Linked DNA regions of Homo sapiens: all the other regions are linked to region 1. Evidence: promoter capture Hi-C in human tissues and cell types (Jung and others, 2019). All regions are on one chromosome and are shown on one strand. The core of a region is centred on a gene start or on the middle of the fragment in contact, and the rest is flanking DNA. Distances in the headings are between cores, read along the strand shown. Region 1 holds the start of SEMA5A (semaphorin 5A). Region 2 overlaps LOC101929307 (a long non-coding RNA gene). Region 3 holds the start of LINC02199 (long intergenic non-protein coding RNA 2199). Region 4 holds the start of CCT5 (chaperonin containing TCP1 subunit 5). Region 5 overlaps LINC02199 (long intergenic non-protein coding RNA 2199). Region 6 has its middle 45 kb from the start of LINC02199. Region 7 has its middle 100 kb from the start of ATPSCKMT.

Evidence for each region. Contacts are between HindIII fragments. The study calls those that stand out against the background at their distance.
Region 2: a fragment that was not itself captured here is called in contact with the fragment with the promoter of SEMA5A in region 1 in 2 of the 25 tissues and cell types used here (dorsolateral prefrontal cortex and lymphoblastoid cells).
Region 3: a contact is called between a fragment that was not itself captured here and the fragment with the promoter of SEMA5A in region 1, in 1 of the 25 tissues and cell types used here (dorsolateral prefrontal cortex).
Region 4: a contact is called between the fragment with the promoter of CCT5 here and the fragment with the promoter of SEMA5A in region 1, in 3 of the 25 tissues and cell types used here (bladder, heart right ventricle and hippocampus).
Region 5: a fragment that was not itself captured here is called in contact with the fragment with the promoter of SEMA5A in region 1 in 1 of the 25 tissues and cell types used here (dorsolateral prefrontal cortex).
Region 6: a contact is called between a fragment that was not itself captured here and the fragment with the promoter of SEMA5A in region 1, in 2 of the 25 tissues and cell types used here (lymphoblastoid cells and mesenchymal stem cells).
Region 7: a fragment that was not itself captured here is called in contact with the fragment with the promoter of SEMA5A in region 1 in 1 of the 25 tissues and cell types used here (dorsolateral prefrontal cortex).

What each region holds. Positions count from the first base shown.
Region 1 is chr5:9,544,776-9,547,356 of GRCh38, reverse strand. SEMA5A (semaphorin 5A) reads left to right here and starts at 1,282. Exons shown (of 23, transcript NM_003966.3): 1 at 1,282-1,773. It overlaps SNHG18 (small nucleolar RNA host gene 18), which reads right to left and starts at 1,157. Exons shown (of 3, transcript NR_045196.2): 1 at 827-1,157. RefSeq lists a silencer at 1,159-1,348. The HindIII fragment of the contact is 8,719 bases long and covers 1-2,581 here.
Region 2 is chr5:8,761,605-8,764,185 of GRCh38, reverse strand. All of the region lies in intron 2 of LOC101929307 (a long non-coding RNA gene), which reads left to right. Among named protein-coding and RNA genes, the nearest start is that of LINC02199, 77 kb to the left of the region's middle. The HindIII fragment of the contact is 5,311 bases long and covers 1-2,581 here.
Region 3 is chr5:8,837,906-8,840,486 of GRCh38, reverse strand. LINC02199 (long intergenic non-protein coding RNA 2199) reads right to left here and starts at 755. Exons shown (of 3, transcript NR_109932.1): 1 at 529-755. All of the region lies in intron 1 of LOC101929307 (a long non-coding RNA gene), which reads left to right. The HindIII fragment of the contact is 4,416 bases long and covers 1-2,581 here.
Region 4 is chr5:10,249,030-10,251,610 of GRCh38, reverse strand. It overlaps CCT5 (chaperonin containing TCP1 subunit 5), which reads right to left and starts at 1,331. Exons shown (of 11, transcript NM_012073.5): 1 at 1,166-1,331. The coding sequence starts at 1,270. ATPSCKMT (ATP synthase c subunit lysine N-methyltransferase) reads left to right here and starts at 1,723. Exons shown (of 5, transcript NM_199133.4): 1 at 1,723-1,753. The coding sequence starts at 1,738. RefSeq lists silencers at 181-403, 734-873, 944-1,013, 1,764-1,823, 1,834-1,953. The HindIII fragment of the contact is 7,315 bases long and covers 823-2,581 here.
Region 5 is chr5:8,859,817-8,862,397 of GRCh38, reverse strand. All of the region lies in intron 1 of LINC02199 (long intergenic non-protein coding RNA 2199), which reads right to left. Among named protein-coding and RNA genes, the nearest start is that of LINC02199, 21 kb to the right of the region's middle. The HindIII fragment of the contact is 4,266 bases long and covers 1-2,581 here.
Region 6 is chr5:8,883,286-8,885,866 of GRCh38, reverse strand. No RefSeq gene overlaps it. Among named protein-coding and RNA genes, the nearest start is that of LINC02199, 45 kb to the right of the region's middle. The HindIII fragment of the contact is 3,399 bases long and covers 1-2,581 here.
Region 7 is chr5:10,149,010-10,151,590 of GRCh38, reverse strand. No RefSeq gene overlaps it. Among named protein-coding and RNA genes, the nearest start is that of ATPSCKMT, 100 kb to the left of the region's middle. The HindIII fragment of the contact is 3,891 bases long and covers 1-2,581 here.

The DNA of each region.
Region 1 (2,581 bases), core at 33-2,532:
GGACCATGCCCAGGACCAGCGAGGCCCATCCATACCCCACCACTGGCTGGAAGGGCGCTGGTGTGAACGTGGGTCCTTGCGGGGGTCCCTACCTCACTGCGGTCAGGAGGGGGCAATTCACACATTTCCTCATGCAGGGGACCTTCAAGCCTCCCTCTGAGGCGCAGACTGAGTAAAAAGGGCCCAGAGATACTGTCCCGCACCCCCATCCAGTGGGAAAGGGCCACTCAAGGCCAGTCAGGACTCCCAACCCAAGTTTTATGCCTTATACTCCTATAACTTTACCATTTGCTCTTTTCGCGAGGCTGACCCCCTCCCTCTCCCCCCCCACCGCCTCCTCCAGAAACTGAAGAACTGCAACAAAGTGTCCAATTATACACGTCTTCAAAGGTACTTTACTTGCTTCCCAATTATCAACTTTTCACCTGAGTACTTAGTAAGGCCCAAGGATCCTGCAAAAGTGCAACAAGGAATAATTGACACAGAATTGGACGAATGACTTTGACCATACGGGACTTCTCTCTTAACGCTCAGCGTGGCTACCTGGGGACGCCTTCTCTGGCCTCCCTGATTCGTCAGATTTGTTCATTTCCTTGACTTAATCCCGCTGAAATCGACCCGAACTAGCCGGGAGTCTCACCCCCAAAGTGCTCCTCCAAGAACCCGCAACGACTGACTCTCTCGTCTTCTTTAAGGAGTTTCTCCCTCAGAACGGATGAGGATGTCACACAGAAAGAACAAAATCACAAAGTTCGAGTTCCGGAGGACCAGACGGCCCCTGCCCCCCATCCCCCGGGCCAGATTTAGCCGAGGGAACCGCACGTACCTGAAGCCGAGGCCGGCAGAGAGGGAGCGCCACGTCTCAGGTCTCGGCCGGCGCCCCCCTCCGGGGTGCAGCCACGTCTGAACCGGGACAGCGGGCGGGGGAGCCGCAGAGGGACCCAGTGAGACGGGGGAGGGAGCCCCCAAAAGTCAGCGCTCGGCCGCACTCGCACTGGGGAGGCTGGAATGGAACTCCTGGGGTGCAGCGGGGCTCCCAGGAGCGAAGGTGGGGGTCCTGTACCGGGAAGGGGCGGGGCCCGGGGAGGGGCTCGGGGAGGTCAGGCGCGGGTGGGGCGCTCGAGTTTCACCCCGGCGGGGAGGAGGAGGAGGAGGAGGCGGCGCGGCGGCGGGGGCGGGGCAGGGGCGGGGCGGGGCGGGGGTGGGCCCAGGCTGTCCCCCGCTCCCCGCCCAGCGCTCTCCGCCCCGCGCTCTCCGCGCCCGCTCGCCCCGCGCCGATCTACTTGCCGGGAAGGCGGCGCCGGTGGCGGCTGCTCTCCCTGAGCCCGCTCCCGAGCGCTGCTTTCCCGCCGCGGGTGGGCTTCGCAGCCTCAGGCCAGCCGCGGCCCTTGGCCCGCTGCAGCCCCGGCCCTCCACCTTCCCCGTGCAGGGGCGGCCCGGCCAGTGTCGCTCATCCCGGGACGCTCCCTTCTCCCACCCAGGACTGCCCCGCGGAGCTGGCTTGGACACCCAACTTTGCCACCTCGAGGGTCGTCTCTGCTGGGCGCGAACCTGCCCACCCACCGGTTGGCCGCGCGCTCGGGGACCGTGCTCGTGGCCCCCAAGCCGGTGCCCCCATTCTGGAACTCAGCGAGTAGGGGGCGGCTCTGGGGAAGTGGCAGGGGGCGGCTGCAGCTGCTGCCTCCACTTCCCTAGCCAGGTGCTGAAGAGGATCCTCGGAGCCGCTCTGGCCCCCAGGCGCTGGATGACTGGCACCAGCGCTCCTCGCACCTGGTGAGCGACCCCCGCCCGATTCCTGCGTGGCCTTGGCAGGAGCCCCTGACCGCGCCGCGCCGCGCCGCGCCGCTGGCCGGGACCCGGGGACTGCAGCGGTCGGCTGGTGGGTGGTGCCGATCTCGGGTGGGATCCATCAGCAGGCACCTGGGCGGGGGTTGCGCGTACAGGATTAGGACGACCGTCAGTCCGGGGGCGCCCACAGTTGAGCTAGTGCACGGGCTGGAAGTTTGTGTACCCGCCTGTGCCGAGGTCTGAGCATGGAGAGGTAAGGAGCCGGAGTGTCGCGGTGGGCGAGACGGGACCCCTGCCCAACACCCGGAAAGGTGCGCACACTGGTCTGTGCCCGCCCCCGGCGCGCCTCCAGGCTCGCACTGCCGCGAGCCGGGGGCAGGGGACACGGAGGTCGGGACTTGGCGGTTCGGGAGCGGCCACCTCGCAGCCCCACCGGCTTGGGCAGGTTTTCCTGCTTTCCTTACAGGGGAACCGGGAGGCAATGGGACTTGGGCTCAACTCCGCCAAGCGCCTTGGTTAATGAAAGACACTAAGGCGGGGGATGCAGAGGCCTGGGGAACCACCAGCCAGGTGCGCTGCAGCTAGGCGAGCCCCTTTCACCAGGCATCCCTCCGCTGCTCCACGGATTTTGCACACCGCGGCTCAGGGTTTCAGACCCCAGGGTTTCGGGCAGATCGGGCTCCAGAGGGAATGGTTTCTCCCAAGATGTGCGTGGGAACGGTCGTGGAGGAGTGATTCCCCCGGCTCGCTCCCCGCGGCGGCCGGTGCCTGGCTTGGAGCGGTCACATCCCTG
Region 2 (2,581 bases), core at 61-2,560, 780 kb after region 1:
AAAACAAACAAAAAATACAAAAAGCAAACTTTGCTATAGGACTTTCCCTTAAAACTAGTGTTGGTGGGAGTGTAAATTAGTTCAACCATTGTGGAAGACAGTGTGGTGATTCCTCAAGGATCTAGAACCAGAAATACCATTTGACCCAGCAATCCCATTACTGGGTATATACTCAAAGACTTATAAATCAATCTACCATAAAGACACATGCACATGTATGTTTATTGCAGCACTGTTTACAATAGCAAAGACTTGGAACCAACCCAAATGACCATCAGTGATAGACTGGATTAAGAAAATGTGGCACATATATACCATGGAATACTGTGCAGCCATAAAAAAGAATGAGTTCATGTCCTTTGCAGGGACACGGATGAAGCTAGAAACCATCATTCTCAGCAAACTAACACAGGAACAGAAAATCAAACACCACGTGTTATTACTCATAAGTGGGAGTTGAACAATGAGAACACATGGACACAGGGAGGGGAAGATCACACACCGGGGCCTGTCAGGGGGTGGGCCACAAGGGAAGGGAGAGCATTAGGAGAAATACCTAATGCCTGCGGGACTTAAAACCTAGATGATGGGTTGAGCAAACCACCATGGCACACGTATACCTATGTAACAAACCTGCACATTCTGCACATATATCCCAGAATTTAAAGTTAAAAAAAAAAGCAGAGGTTTCTTAATTTAAGGTAATAAGACCAAAGAATAGATATTTTTCTAATTAACCTGAATTTTATATAAGATGAAGAGCAGGCACAGGCATGGAGGCTCATGCTTGTAAGCACATTGGGAGGACGAGGCGGGTATATTACCTGGGGCTGGGAGTTCTAGACCAGCCTGGCCAACATGGTAAAACCCCTTCTCTACTAAAAATATAAAAATTAGCCAGGCATGGTGGTGCATGCTTGTAATAGAAGCTACTTGGGAGGCTGAGACACCCGAATTGCTTGAACCTGGGAGGCAGAGGTTGCAGTGAGCTGAGATTGCGCCACTGCGCTCCAGCCGGGGTGACTGAGTGAGACCCTATCTCAATAAAACAAAACAAAACAAAGCAAAACAACAACAAAGGTGAAGAGCATATATTTATTTTAGTTTTTGTAATTTAATATATTTTAATCAATTGCTAATGACATTTTACATTAATTTAACCTTTGCATGTGCCAGACATGATGCATTAGATGTATGTCCTCATTTATCTAAGCTGTGCTAAGAGAGAAGAGATATTTTCATTCTTTGCACAGATGGTGAAGCTGAGACTATAGGAATGAAGAAGCTTGACTCAGGTCACACACATGAAAGTGGTGGAGCCAGGCCCAAACCAAGGTCTATCTGACTCTATGACTGTATTAGTCCACTCTCATGCCACTATGAAGAAATACCTGAGACTGGGTAATTCATAAAGCAAAGAGATTTAACTGACTCACAGTTCTGCAAGGCTGGGGGGCCTCAGGAAACTTACAATCATGGTGAAAGCACCTCTTCACAGGGTGTTAGGAGAGAGAATGAGTGCGAGCAGGGGAAATGCCATACATTTATAAATCCCTCAGATCTTGTGAGACTCACTCATTATCATGAGAACAGCATGAGGTAAACCACCCCTGGGCCCTTCCAAATCTCATGTCCTCACATTTCAAAACACAATTATGCCTTTCCAACACCAATCATGCCTTCGTAACAGTACCCCAGAGGCGTAACTCATTCCAGCATTAACTCAAAAGTCCAAGCCCAAAGTCTCATCTGAGACAAGGCAAGTCCTTTTCCCCTATGAGCCTGTTAAATCAAAAGCAAATTAATTATGTCCTAGATACAATGAGGATACAGGCATTGAATGGGTATATTTACCCATTCAAAATGGGAGAAATTGGTCAAAACAAAGGGACTACAGGCCCCATGCAAGTCCAAAATCCAAAAGGGCAGTCATTAATCCTTAAAGTTCCAAAATAATCTCATTTGACTTCGTGTCTCACATCCAGCTCACATTGATGCAAGAGGTGGGCTCCCAAGACCTTGAATAGCCCCACCCTTATGGCTTTGCAGATTACACCTACACTCCAGGCTGCATTTGCAGGCTGGCATTGAAGTGTCTTCAGCTTTTCCAGGTGCACAGTGCAAGCTGTCAGTGGATCTATGATTCTGGGATCTGGAGCATGATGGCTCTCTTCTCACAGCTCCACTAGGCAGTGCCCTAGTGAGGGCCCTGTGTGGAGGTTCTGACCCCACATCTCCCTTCCACACTGCCCTGGCAGAAGTTCTCCATGAGGGTCCCACCCCTGTAGCAAACATCCAGGCATTTCCATACATCCTCTGAAATCTAGGTGGAGGTTCCAACCTCAAATCTTTACTTCTGTGTACCCACAGGCCCAACACCATGTGTAAGCCACCAAGGCTTGGGGCTTGTACTTTTTGAAGCAATGACCTGAGCTGTACATTTTCCCCTTTTAGCCACAGCTTGGATGCAGGGCACCAAGTGCTGAGACTGCACAAAGCAGCAAGGCCCTGGGCCCAGCCCATGAAACAATTTTTACCTCCTATGCCTCTTTGCCTGTGATGGGAGGGTGTATTAATCTGT
Region 3 (2,581 bases), core at 46-2,545, 710 kb after region 1:
GCCGCGCGCAGCGCCGGCTCCAGCCAGTGCCTTTCTCTTCACACCTCCCCGCCAGCAGAGGGAGCAGGCTCCGGCCTCCGCCAGCCCCAGAGAGAGGCCCTCATAGCGCAGCGGCGGGCTGAAGAGCTCCTTGAGCGCGGCCAGAGCGGACGCCGAGGCCGAGGACGCGCCCAGAGCCAGCAAGGGATGCTACCACGCTGTCACCTCTCACCGTGAGCCACAACTGCTGGTCCTGCGTTCACGGCTTTCCTTTGTCTTTCAGGTGGAGACGCGCTGACCTGCCCCAATACCTATTGTTGTTTGTTAAATTACTCCAAGATACTTATAGTTAACGGCAAACACCCATTTATAACCACAAATCATGTCAGATGTTCAGGACCAGCACAATCAATCAAGTAAACAGCACCCTCCTTGAGTATGTGGCAGGTGTGTGAGGATTTCATGAACCTGTCCTGCATTTCCAAATCCATCCTGAGGCCTCTCCCTGGACACAGGTCTGTGGATCAGCCTGTACTCGGGCAGTTTTACCTTCTATGTCTGTTTGTCACGGTCCTCTTGTCCTAGTGCTCATCACTGCACGTTCCCAGCTCCAGCAAGTGGCCACTCTTTTCCCTCCACAACCAAAGGCCCGACGGCCCAGCCCCCCGGTGGCAGGTGGCCCTTCCATGGCTGAGGTCACACACCCAGCATCGCATCCTGCCCTTCTCGGGGCCTCGGGCCCCTTCGACTCGTCTCCAGGGATTGCACTTGCTCCTGCTGCCCACGGAGGTTTCCTTCCTGTGATTCCACTCGGAGGGGGCGCTTTTCTTTGCTGGCTTCAACCATCACAGAGCTGCTTTGTGTTCGCCGGCAGCTGCCACGCTTCCCTGAAAAGGCGGCTTCTGTTCTGCTGGAGATGAGCTGATTTGCCTGGCAGCCAACTTAAACAAGGAGGTACTTTGAGACCATTTTTTTGGAATCTTTGTCTTTTTCTCTCGACATTCAGCTTCGTAGTTGTAAAACTCTAAATACTCGTGGGGTTTAACACAAGGCTCGGGGGTTTTGAGGATTCCAAAGTGATTCCTGTATACAGTTATGACCACAGAACAAATTCACAGGGGAGAACAGACCATTCATTGTGACATTTGACACCGGACAGCAGATGATACAGTGTCCCCCTTATCTGTAAAGAAGGCAAAGTTTTGTTTCTGGTTTCCGAATCCAGAAATTAATAGTTCACTTAATTGCTAGGAATCTTCAAGGGTATGGTAGGCTCTGAGCATTGACCTGGCCCCTTATTTCCTGGCAATAAGTAACAGTTCCTGAAATTCTTTTTCTGCTATTAAATGTAACCTGCGACTTGAAGAAGCATTTTAGTTATTTACTCTCTCTGTGAACAAAAAATAACAATGCAGGCTGGGCAAAGTGGCTCACACCTGTAATCTTCACACTTTGGGAGGCCGAGGTGGGTGGATCACCTGAGGTCAGGAGTTCAAGACCAGCCTGGCCAACGTGGTAAAACCCCATCTCTACTAAAAATAGAACAAATTAGCTGGGCGTAGTGACAGGCACCTGTAATCCCAGCTACTCAGGATGATGAGACAGGAGAATTGCTTAAACCTGGGAGGCAGAGGTTGCAGTGAGTTGGGATCGCACCACTGCACACTAGCCTGGGCAACAAGAATGAAACTCCATCTCAAATAATAATAACAACGCTCAGTGCTCATCTTGTTTCTTGCTTTCTCCCAAAATGTTAGTAGTTAAATGTAAAAAATGAATTCCCTCTTTAGTTAAACTAGCTTCCTGTGTGGTGTCCACTCGATGACATACCATAGCAGGGATCCCTTGTGTAACAAACATCCCTCTTCAAAATAATGAGGACTTTCTTTAGTCCCCAGACAGCCTTTAGTGACACATTTTCTTGTCTCCACTGCCCTCTAGTACGTGAATATAACCTCTCAGTAGCTACGCTCCCAGGTGGCACCAATGAACCATGCCTCCTGGTAGTCCTCTCCACGCTAAGTTGGGCCAGCCCTCTGTAACCAAGAGAATGTGGTGGTGGTGATGCTGTGTGACTTCTGTGACTAAGTTATAGGAAGCTTCTGTGACCCTGTGAAACATTTGCTGTGATTTTTTTAGATCACCCCCTCTGTAAAAATCCAGGTGCCAAATAAGAAGCCTAACTACCTGGAGAGCACCATGGTTTGAGGAATCCCAAATTGGCCACATGGAGAAGGTGCCTTCCTGATCTACCCCAGCTTTTCCAGACCTCTCAGTCTGGATGTCAGGTACATGGGTGAAGAGGCCTTGAGATGTTTCCAGCCTCGGCCCCAGTCTACCTGTAACTGATGGAGGAACCCAAGAGGGAAATGTCCAACTGAACTATAAACTTCCAGAACTGTGAAAGGCAATCACAAATTGTTGTTTTAATCCTTTTAGTTTTCAGATGGTATACAGCAATAAACAGAACAGCACTTCATAATTGACCAAATGGGAGAATGTGTGTTTGAGAATTAACAAAACCATTTTGAATTGTAACTAATGAGAATACTTTTTTCACCCACACAACCCCCATCCTTTCAGCAAATACCCTTTATTTAAA
Region 4 (2,581 bases), core at 82-2,581, 700 kb before region 1:
TGTAACTAGCACTAAGTCAAACAAAGAGTCCATAGGGGAACTGTATTGTTTCTAACTTTGCGTAAGTAAACCTCCAAGACACTAAGTGAACAGGGACACCTGAGAGACCTAGTGGAATGGTCTATTATGAATTCACTTTATAACAAACCCTGAAGGCCCTCTCGGAGTGTCCCTTCCTCTGCATTTTCTGTCAACGTCTGGTGCTCAGATGTTTCTTACCTGCACCCCTGCCCTGGTTTCTTTAACCCCTCTGGTCTTCCTTATTCCCTTCGGTCTATCTCAAGCTTTGCTGCCTGAAGTGCAGCTCTACTGAAATTCTGCTCAAAACCCCCTCAATGGCTCCCCTTCTTCCCCAAAGATAACGTCGTATTTTCCATGTTGGGCATTCAATAGCTTCCACCTTCGGGAACTATTGTAAGTTAAAGAAGTCAGTGCTCCATTAAAACCGGATGGCTCTTCCATTCTACAACGTGCCATGCGCATTCTTGCCCAAGCCTTTACTTCTACCGTTTCCTCTCCCTAGAATGCTACCTCTCACCCCGATCTAAAGCTGTCCTCCAGCACCACGCTTATGTGCACCCTCTCCGTAGCTGTCCTTCTCACTGCACACCACCTTGTATTACGGTTATGTGCGTCCGTTTTTCACTCTTCGCTATTTTTCCTCAAGGGTGGGCAAAAAAGCACTCAGAAATGAAATACCCTGTTAAGTGACCACACCTTTACGAGTGACAAAGAAAACGGAAGGGCCGTTGCGGGTGGACCAGCGAAAGGTTAAGCAGCAGCGCCTTAACCGACAGGTGACAGAGCATCTCCCCGGCGCCCTCCCACTGGAGCGCAGTCCCACGCGGCCGTCAGGCTGGAGGAGCCGGGCGGGGAGGCGGTCCCGCTTTGCTCCCGCGGGCGACCGGACTGAGCGGCCCCACCCAGCTCCGAAGGGCGCTGGCGGCCCAGCCTGGCTGGCCCCCACATTCCGAGCCCAGGATTAGGCGCCGGCGTCTCCCGAGCTCAGTAAGCGGGCTGAGCGGCCGGAGACCGCAGGGAGACGGAGATTCTCGACCTTTCCGGGGAGCACATGGCAGAGCCGCTCCTCAACTCGCGCAGGCGCAGAGCCACGGCCTCGGCCACCTCCCCTTAGCCCACCGCGAGCAGGTCCCTGTGCCATTACCTTGAGGGCCTCAAGTCCCATAAGACGGGACTTGCGGTCCTGATCCTTGATGATGAGGAAAGGGCGCCCATATTCATCGAAGGCGAGGGTCCCCATGGACGCCATGGTGCAACAACCGGAATTACTTCCCCCCAACCGGCGGAGACCGCTACGGAAGCGAGAATGCACTTCCCTTTCTCGGGAGGGCCCAAAAGCTTGCGCACGCGCAGCACAAGACGCGCGGGACTTATGTTTCTACTGAGACTAATTTCACGCCAGACAGTATCTTCTGGAATCGGCGGCCTTCGGGAACTTCTATTATCCAGGAAGCCGGGGAGGGGGAGGTTTGAAGACACTTAGTGGAAATCTTAGGACACACAAGTCAAGAGCAGATTGAATTTGTCATTTTTTAAAACGTTACCACTGATAGTTTCTCGATAGTGGGTCCCAAGGAGGAATTCATTGACTTAAAGCACTATTTCTTTATTTCTTCGCACTCCGGCTCCGAGAAGATGGTAGGACCCATTTCCGGTTTTTTTTTTTTTTTTTTTTTTTTTTTTTTTTTTTTTAAAAACGCTGTTGGAAATCTCGCGATGGAGGGAGGAGGAGGTGAGGCTGGAGCGGCTTGGCGGGTTCCTGGGGGCATGAGAAGGGGTGCGGGCGGGCCGGGGGCTCGCGGTCAGCTGAGGTCTCCACTGTCGAGGCGGTGACCGGGTGCGGGCGGCTGCTCTGGCCTCCAGCCTGGCCTTCGGTGACCAGAGCTCCTGGTCGCCGCGCGGTGCCCGCGCCGGTTCTGGCGATCCTTGTCGGCGGGCGCGTTTCCCCAGAGACTGTTCTAGGCTACTTAGTGCAAGTGACTCAGCCTTTGGCACGATCTTAAGGAATAGGGATAGTGGAGGCACACTGATGGATTGGAATCGCAGTTCTGCCGCTCTTCCTAGCTGTGGCTTTGAGGAAATCCCTTAACTTCTTTGTCCCTCGGGTTCCCTGTCTGCAAAGTGACGGTGGTAACAGTAGTGCCTACTCACAGGGCTGCTGTGAGATTCAAGGAGAACGGTGCCTGGCAAGCTGAACACAGTGTTGGTAAATAAATTAACATTTTGCACAAATGGTTCAGTAACTTGCCACTGGTATACAGCTAGTAAGAAACAGTTACACAGCCTGATGCAATGGGTCCCACACTCTTTTTTTTTTTTTTTTTTTTTGAGACAAGACTGTAGCCCGGGCTGGAGTGCAGTGGCGCGGTCTCGGCTCACTGCAGCCTCCGCCTCCCGGGTTCCAGTGATTCTCGTGCCTCAGCCTCCCAGGCAGCTGGGACTACAGGCACAGAACCACCACGCTCGCTAATTTTTGTATTTTTAGTAGAGACGGTGTTAACGCCGTAGTGGCCAGGCTGGTCTCGAACGGCTGACCTCAAGTGATGTACCCGTCTAGGTC
Region 5 (2,581 bases), core at 42-2,541, 680 kb after region 1:
AAATTATGCTATAACAGCCCCAAAATTGCCCCTTAAGAGATTTACATGAATAGAAAGACTCTTGCAGAGGAAGATTCATAATCTAAATTTATTTATTATTTTGAATTATTCTATATGCTTAATAGCCCAATCCATCTAGTAAAAAATATTTAAACCTGATGAGATAGTCTAAAATTTTAGTGAATAAATACATATCTGACCTATAGTATCTGTCAGATAAACTAATTTTTGCTCTAGCAACAAGTGACACTCACATCTCAGTAATTAAAACAGCAAATATTTTACTCTACATTCAGGCCATTCCATAATCTGCTTTGTGTCATTTGCATGCCAAACCCACACCGGTGAGACTCCAACTGTCTGGAACATAGGTGAACAGGAAGGCAGAGAAAAAAGAGAACACGATGAAGAATCTGCTGGCTCAGACAGCAGCGCCTGGAAGAGTCATGTGCCACTTTCACTCACATTTTATGACTGAAGCACGTCATATGGCCACGTATAAATTCAGGAAATTGGGGAAGTACAATTCCACTAAGGAAGGACAGTGAAAACAGCTGGAGAATTTTACTCTGTCAAATGAGAAATAGTGAAACTAATCCTCCATTAAAATATATACAAATTTATATTATTTAAAGCAGGAATTAAAATCTTAGAAATTTGTGCCTGCATATTGTCCCCTAACCACACCTATATTTATATAGGGAATTTATAATAATTAAGCCATTTAAGTAAGTGATAAAGATATGTACTTTGAAACATATACTGATGGGGGAAATAGCCAGCCATTAAAATATGATGTAGCCAGATTCATAATTTAGATATATCCAAAATTTAATATAAAAACAAATTATTAGAAGAAAATAGGTGAACATTCTTATATGTTATAGGTGGTAAAGGTCTTATAGTCAGGGCATACGTTTTGGAAGCTATGAAGATTTATAATACAGTATTGCTAACTATACTCTCATTGCTGGGCGTTAGATTTCCAGAGTGTTTACAACCTGCATAACTGAAACTTTATACCCTTTGACAAATATCCCTCCATTGCCACCTCCTCTCAGCTTTTCTCTCTGTTTCTGTGACTTCAAAGTTTTAGATTCCACATATAAGTGAGATCATGCAGTATTTGTCTTCCTCTACCTGGCTGATTTTGCTTAGCATAATGTTCTCTGGGCCCATGTATGTTGTTGCAAATGGCAGGATTTCCTTCGTTTTAGTGGCTGAATAATATTCAATTTTTTGTGTGTATGTATGTATGTATATGTACAAACTACACAAAAATAATATAAATATTTCATTACATTAATATATATTACTTTTTTATTCATTTATTCATCAATGGACATGTAGTTTGTTTATATATCTTGGCTACTGTGAATATTGCTGTAATACACATGGAAGTGCAGATATTGCTTTGACATATTGATTTAAATTCCTTTGTGTATATGCTCAGAAGTGAGATTTCTGGATCATAAAGTAGTTCTAATTTTAATTTTTTGAGGAACCTCTACACTATCTTCTTTCTTGCTTTTTTTGAGACGGAGTCTCACTCTGTTGCCTAGGCTGGAGTACAGTGGCATGATCTTGGCTCAGCCTCCCAGATTTAAGTGATTATCCTGCCTCAACCTCCTGAGTAGCTGGGATTACAGGCATGCACCACCATGCCCTGCTAATTTTCGTATTTTTAGTAGAGACTGGGTTTTGTCATGTTGGCCAAGCTTCTGTCACCTAGGCTAGAGTGCAGTGGTGCGATCACATCTCACTGCAACCTCTGCCCCCCGGGTTCAAGCAATTCTTGTGGTTCAGCCTCCTGAGTAGCTGAGACTACCATGGCACCATGCCCAGCTAATTTTTTTGTATTTTTCATAGAAATATGGTAGAGATGGGGTCTTGCTATGTTAGCCAGGCTGATCTCAAATACCTGGCCTCAAGTGATCCATCCACCTTGGCCTCCCAAAGTGTTGGGATTACAGGTGTGAGCCACCGTGCCTGGCCTCTATACTATTTTCTATAATGGTTGTACCACTTTACATTCCCATCAATAATGTAAAAGATTCCCTTTTCTCTACAATGTGCCAACATGTATCTTTCATCTTTTTTATAATAGTCATTCTCACTAGTGTGAGATAATCTCATTGTACTTTTAATTTTACATTTTCCTGATGATAGTAATGTTGAACATTTTTCATATAGCTCTTATCCATTTGTGTGTCTTCCTTGAGAAATGTTTATTTAAATAATTTGCATTTTTAGTTAGTTTTTTAGTGTGTGTTTTGTTGTTTGCTATTGGATTGTATGAGTTTCTTATACATTTTAGACATTAACTATTTATAAGATTCACGGTTTGCAAATATATTTTCCTATTCAGTACATTGTCTCTTCAGGCTGTTGACTCTTTGGGCTGTTGATTCTCTATGCAGAAGCTATTGACTTTGATGAAATCCCATTTGCCTGTTTTTGCTTTTGTTGTCTGTGCTTTTGTTGTCATAGTCAAAATATCATTGCCCAGACCAATGTAAAAAATATTTTCCCGTGTTTTTTTCTAGTAGTTTTACAGTTTTAGGTATTACATTTAAGTATT
Region 6 (2,581 bases), core at 55-2,554, 660 kb after region 1:
TTTCATTTTTCCCTTCCAACCTATATGCTAATGTTTTCATATATTTTATTTCTATATATGTCATAAACTTCAAAGTACAGTCCTATTATTTTTGCTTTACACAAATAGTTCTAAAAGTGCAGTCTGGGGTCTCCTGTGGTTCATAGGATCTTTTCAGGGTATCCATGAGGTGGAAACTATTTTCATAATTGTAAGACACTGCTTACACTTTCATTCTCATTCTCTCAAAGGCTACATGATATACGATATTGCAACAGACCAAATGCAAAAGCACATATTATGCTTTAGCTGCTCTTTATTAAGTCTGGAATTGAAGCGATTGGCAAAATATTTTTTAAATGCCATTCTCCTCACTAATTGTTTTTCTTCCTTGAAAAATATAGTTACTTTTCTTAAAAAGATATTATTTTTTGTTAATATAAAATGGGGTTATTATTACTAGTTTTAAACAAATAAATAAATATTTTCATTAATAGATATTATTAATAAATATGTCAGTTTTAATTTCTAATACAGAAAATATTAGTAGATGTAATCCACATCAACAAATTATCCAGGATCCTCAATAATTATCACAACTACAAAGGTATGATGAGACAAAAGTGTTTGAGAAATTCTTCTTTAAACTGTTAATTATATTTTAAATAGAAACCTAAAATACTTGTCTTATTTACATAGATATTTATCATTTCCAAGTCTGCACATTCCTTTATGTATATACAAATTTTAACGTACTATAATTTTCCTTCAACCTGAAGAAATTTCTCTATTATATCTTGTAGAGAAAGTTGGCTAAAAAAGATTGCATCTGATTTTGTTTGAACTAAATTATGTCTTTATTTTGCCTTCATAATATAAATTTAGCTAGATTTAACATTCTAGGTCATTCCCCCACCCCCCTACCCTGCCTGCCCATCACTTTGTAACATTCATTATTTATCCTTCCCTGCCCTCTTCTAGCTACAGAGAATTATTATTTGAGAAGGTCAAAGTAAATTTCATGTTAAGAAAAGAAGGTAGTTGGAATGAGAGGATGGATATTAACTTCATATTTAATACAACATGTGCATCTGCCCTTTTTACCAAGTCATGGTCTATAGGCAGAAGCTAGGGTATGTGAAGTCGAGTTGTATTATTAAGTTTATAATCTTCACATAACCTCAAATCTATAAAACCTTTGTTCAACAGTCCAGAGAAATTTAGATGAATTAAAACTCTTACTTTAGTCAATGGTACTGTGTGGTTTGAGAAAGAATCAGTTAGGTGACCTTTCTATTTTTTTCTTGATATTTATTCTGCTAAAGTGACATAAAAAAACTTTATTAGAAAATATAGAATGTCACATTATTATTAAATTGTTTACTTGGCATTTAGACACAGGTGTTTTCTTAGAAATTTTAAAGGGGATTGAGCTTTGCTCCTTTGATGCCGACAACTTTGACTCTATTTTAGCAATAGATGCAAACCCCAGAGCTTCCAGAATACAAAAATGTGAACCTACTTGCTGGAAGAGAACAAGGTAGAGAACCTACCTATTACCATCAAATACCAAACCATAATTATAAGAAAAATGTAGTAAAATCCAAACTTTAAAAATATATGAATGTTTAACAGAGTGTGTGCTATGTGTAGAAGTTCAAGGCTGCCCCCTTCAGAGAAAGCAATGCCTTGAAAGAAAGGTGGAAAATCAGCTTGAAGAGAAAAAAACCATTCTAATAGATCTCAGATGCATTTCAGCTCTATGTTGTAGGATTTCGTGTTCATAACTATTCTATTGGTGTTGATATTTCTAGGAAGGCTGTGGCATAAACCAATGCACAGTTACTCCCTGCGTCCTTAGCAAAGGGCAGATGTGATTTGCTGAGAGCACACACATCCAAGCCCTAAAAGCTTCTCACCAGCCAAGCACCCTACACTCTTCTCAACCACTTGCCTTCACTCCAAATGCCTCCTCCCTGCCTCTATCCAAATTTTACTCAGTATTTAGGGCCCTCCTTAATCGGCAGAATCTTCGTGAAACTGCCCCATAGAATGCTGATGGTATTAGTGCTCTTTCTCAGCAGTGCGAAATAATGCTGTTTTATATGCTTTAAGACTACGTTGGTTGGCTCTTTACTTGTCTGTGCCCCTCCTGAGCTGTGCAAAGGGGTTACTGTCAACACCACTAGCATGTGGTACAGATAGAGCATGGAGTTTACTGGGGACAAGCTTAGGATCAGAGAAGTAGGAGGCACACACACCCTTGAACTCTCAGTACCCAACATCATAGTCTTCATACCTATGGCCAACAAGCTGGTATACAGCGCCTTCATGTCTCTGATGCTCCGCATATGTATATGGCTTGGGAGCATGGAGCACTTGTGTAACTAGTACCAATGGATGCTCTCTGTTTAAAAATGGTTTTGTCAGGAAGAATTAGCAGTGGCTGGTATCAGCCTGTTCTATTGAATTAACTCTGACCTGCTGAGCCACTTACCTCAGGAACTCCTAGAAGAATAAAGAATCTAAACCCTCAGAGCCAACTAGATTTGTCCCCTTGGGAAAAAAAAGACCTTGGACTTGTTTATTTTTATAGCCCTAG
Region 7 (2,581 bases), core at 22-2,521, 600 kb before region 1:
ACTAAATATTATTTAAAATTAAAACTGAAATCATATAGATTCACAAAGAGATTTCCTTGGTATCTTTATTATATATGAAGAAAGAATTAAATACTTGATGTCAATATTTTGCTGAAAAATGCAACTTTTCTTCCTGATTATACATCCAGAACACCTTTTCTTTAAACTACTCTGGGAACCAGTGTAGTTGTCCCTGTTCCTCTGACTTTTCTCCTGAATTCCAGACTCATTTCCATTTGCCCTTTAGGTGCCCATCTTCTTAAATATTTTATTTTAATTATTTTTATGTTTTTTTTTTTTTGAGACAGGGTCTTACTCTGTTTCCCAGGCTGGAATTGAGGGTACAATCACAGCCCACTCCAGCCTCAACCTCCTGGGCTCAAGTGATCCTCCCATCTCAGCCTCTAGAGTAGCTAGAACTAGAAGGGCACACCACCACCCCCGACCATTAAAAAAAAAATGTTTAGTAGAGACAAGGTTTTGCCATGTTGTCCAGGCTGGCCTCAAACTCCTGGGCTCAAGTGATCCTCCCACCTTGGCCTCCCAAAGTGTTGGGATTAAGGTGTGAGCCACTGTGCCTGGCCTTGGTGCCTATCTTGTTGGTGCATCTTCAGTTGAGCTCATCCCATCCCACCCCATCTGATAAGGCAAATCTCAGGTCCTCCGCCTCCACTCTGACAGGTGCCAGCACCTCCTCTCTTCACCTGTGACCTCGTTCTTCTCCCTTTTCTGGGAAGGCCCAGTTCCGCTGAGGCCCATACATAACCTGCGACGCTTTCTTCTGGGCCAGCCCTTTGCCAACAGCACGAGATGTTTTTTGGCTTAGCCTGTTGGCACTCCATGCTGACTTGAACTCAGGCTTCCCCTTCCAGGGTCTCAGCTGCGGCTTCCTTGGACACGACCACTACCCGATTGTTGAGCCCTCCTCTCCTCTTTCCCTGGGACCCTCACAAATTCTACACCCACAGTCTCTTCTGCCTCGGTGTGGCCTGTGGGCTTCTCCCTATGGATATGCAAACGTAACGTCCAAAGTCAAATTAATTCTGATCTCCTAAACAGTTTTTCCTTTTATATTCCTGAGTTTTTAAAGACTGGCATCAGCTTCTGTCTGTTTCCTTGGGGTGGAAATTTTGTGCCGTTATTTCACCTTCTTCTTGCTGTTTATATCCATCTGGACACCAAGCCCGGGGTATAGCCCCTGCTTACAGACCACTTGAAGCCAGCTGCTTACCTCTTCTCCTGCAGTTGCTTCATTCAGAACCGGGGTTTTGTGCCTAAGTGCAGGGAGAGACTTTCGGCTGCTCTCCCGGCCTCCACTACCCACCTTTCTACCCCGTCACAGTCGTCCTCCACACTGCTATCATCTCTTCCGCTTACTCGAAGCAACAACAACAGCAGCAATAACAACCAGCCAGACCAGTAAAACCTCTTGGTGGCCCCCAGGTGCCTGTAGTATGAACTCTTAAGCTTAGTAGTAAAGGACACTCAGCGTCCGGCCTTAACTTTCCAGCCCCGCCCCTGTTTTACCATCTGGCCACACCACCCGCTTATCACGCCCCTGTTTCCTGAGGACATTGTGCATTGGTGCATTTGCTTTGTTTTAAAATGTACCTGTGTTCGTTTATATCTGCTGGAAATGCCATTTCTTGCCCCCCATCCCATGGTTTGCTTGTTGAACTCATGTTCACGAAGGCTCAGTTCAGGTGGGCGGCAGCAGGTGTTCCCCGTTCTGTGTTTTCATGGTGACTGGTACGCATCAATATTCACATTGTACTTACTTGTTTTCGCGTCGGCCTAAGCACATTCTGAGCTGCTGGAGGGTAGGACCTGTGCACGACTCTACCTGGGCATGGCCCAGAGCAGTCGTTTGTAAACGTGTGAGCAAGGAGAAGGGGAAGGAAGGAAAGAACAGTGTCAAAGCTTGAGAAATGGAATGGGTGCCAGTATACCATGGGTGGGAACATTAAGAAACTTAAAGGATAACCACAATCAATGAGCTGCAGTAGCTCAGAACTTTGTGATCGACTTTTATGAGCCATAGAACTTGGCCCTGTTGCCAACAGTTTTTAGAAATACCACAGCCCTAATGCTTAAGCACATTGCTGTAATTCGACTCTCCATAAAGTGATCTTTAAATTGTGTTTTGAGGCTGGGAAGTGCACATCAGTGACACGCTTAACTGTATAGCTGCAGCCAAACTGGAATCTAGACCTATTTGTGTGCAAATACGATGCTTCAAGTTCATTACTGTTATTAGGAAATGGAAATACAGCCAGAGCAGAAATAACAGTCTATTTCCCTCTGCCTGTGCTGTGTTTTCATCAATGAGGCTTCTGAAGGACTATATGCATTTACTAACCCATTAGAATGAGCGATTTTATATCCTAATGTAAAATTAAAGGAATTTAAGGATCTGCCTAGGAGATACACTTGTTTAAACCTATATTAATGTTTCTATTGGTTATGTCGACTCTAACTAGTAACACGTTATTGGAAAGGGAAATGCCCCGGCTGTGTGTGTATTTTCTGAATCTCAATGCTATATTTTTCTGACAAGGTGTGGAGCTGAATTTCTTCTCTT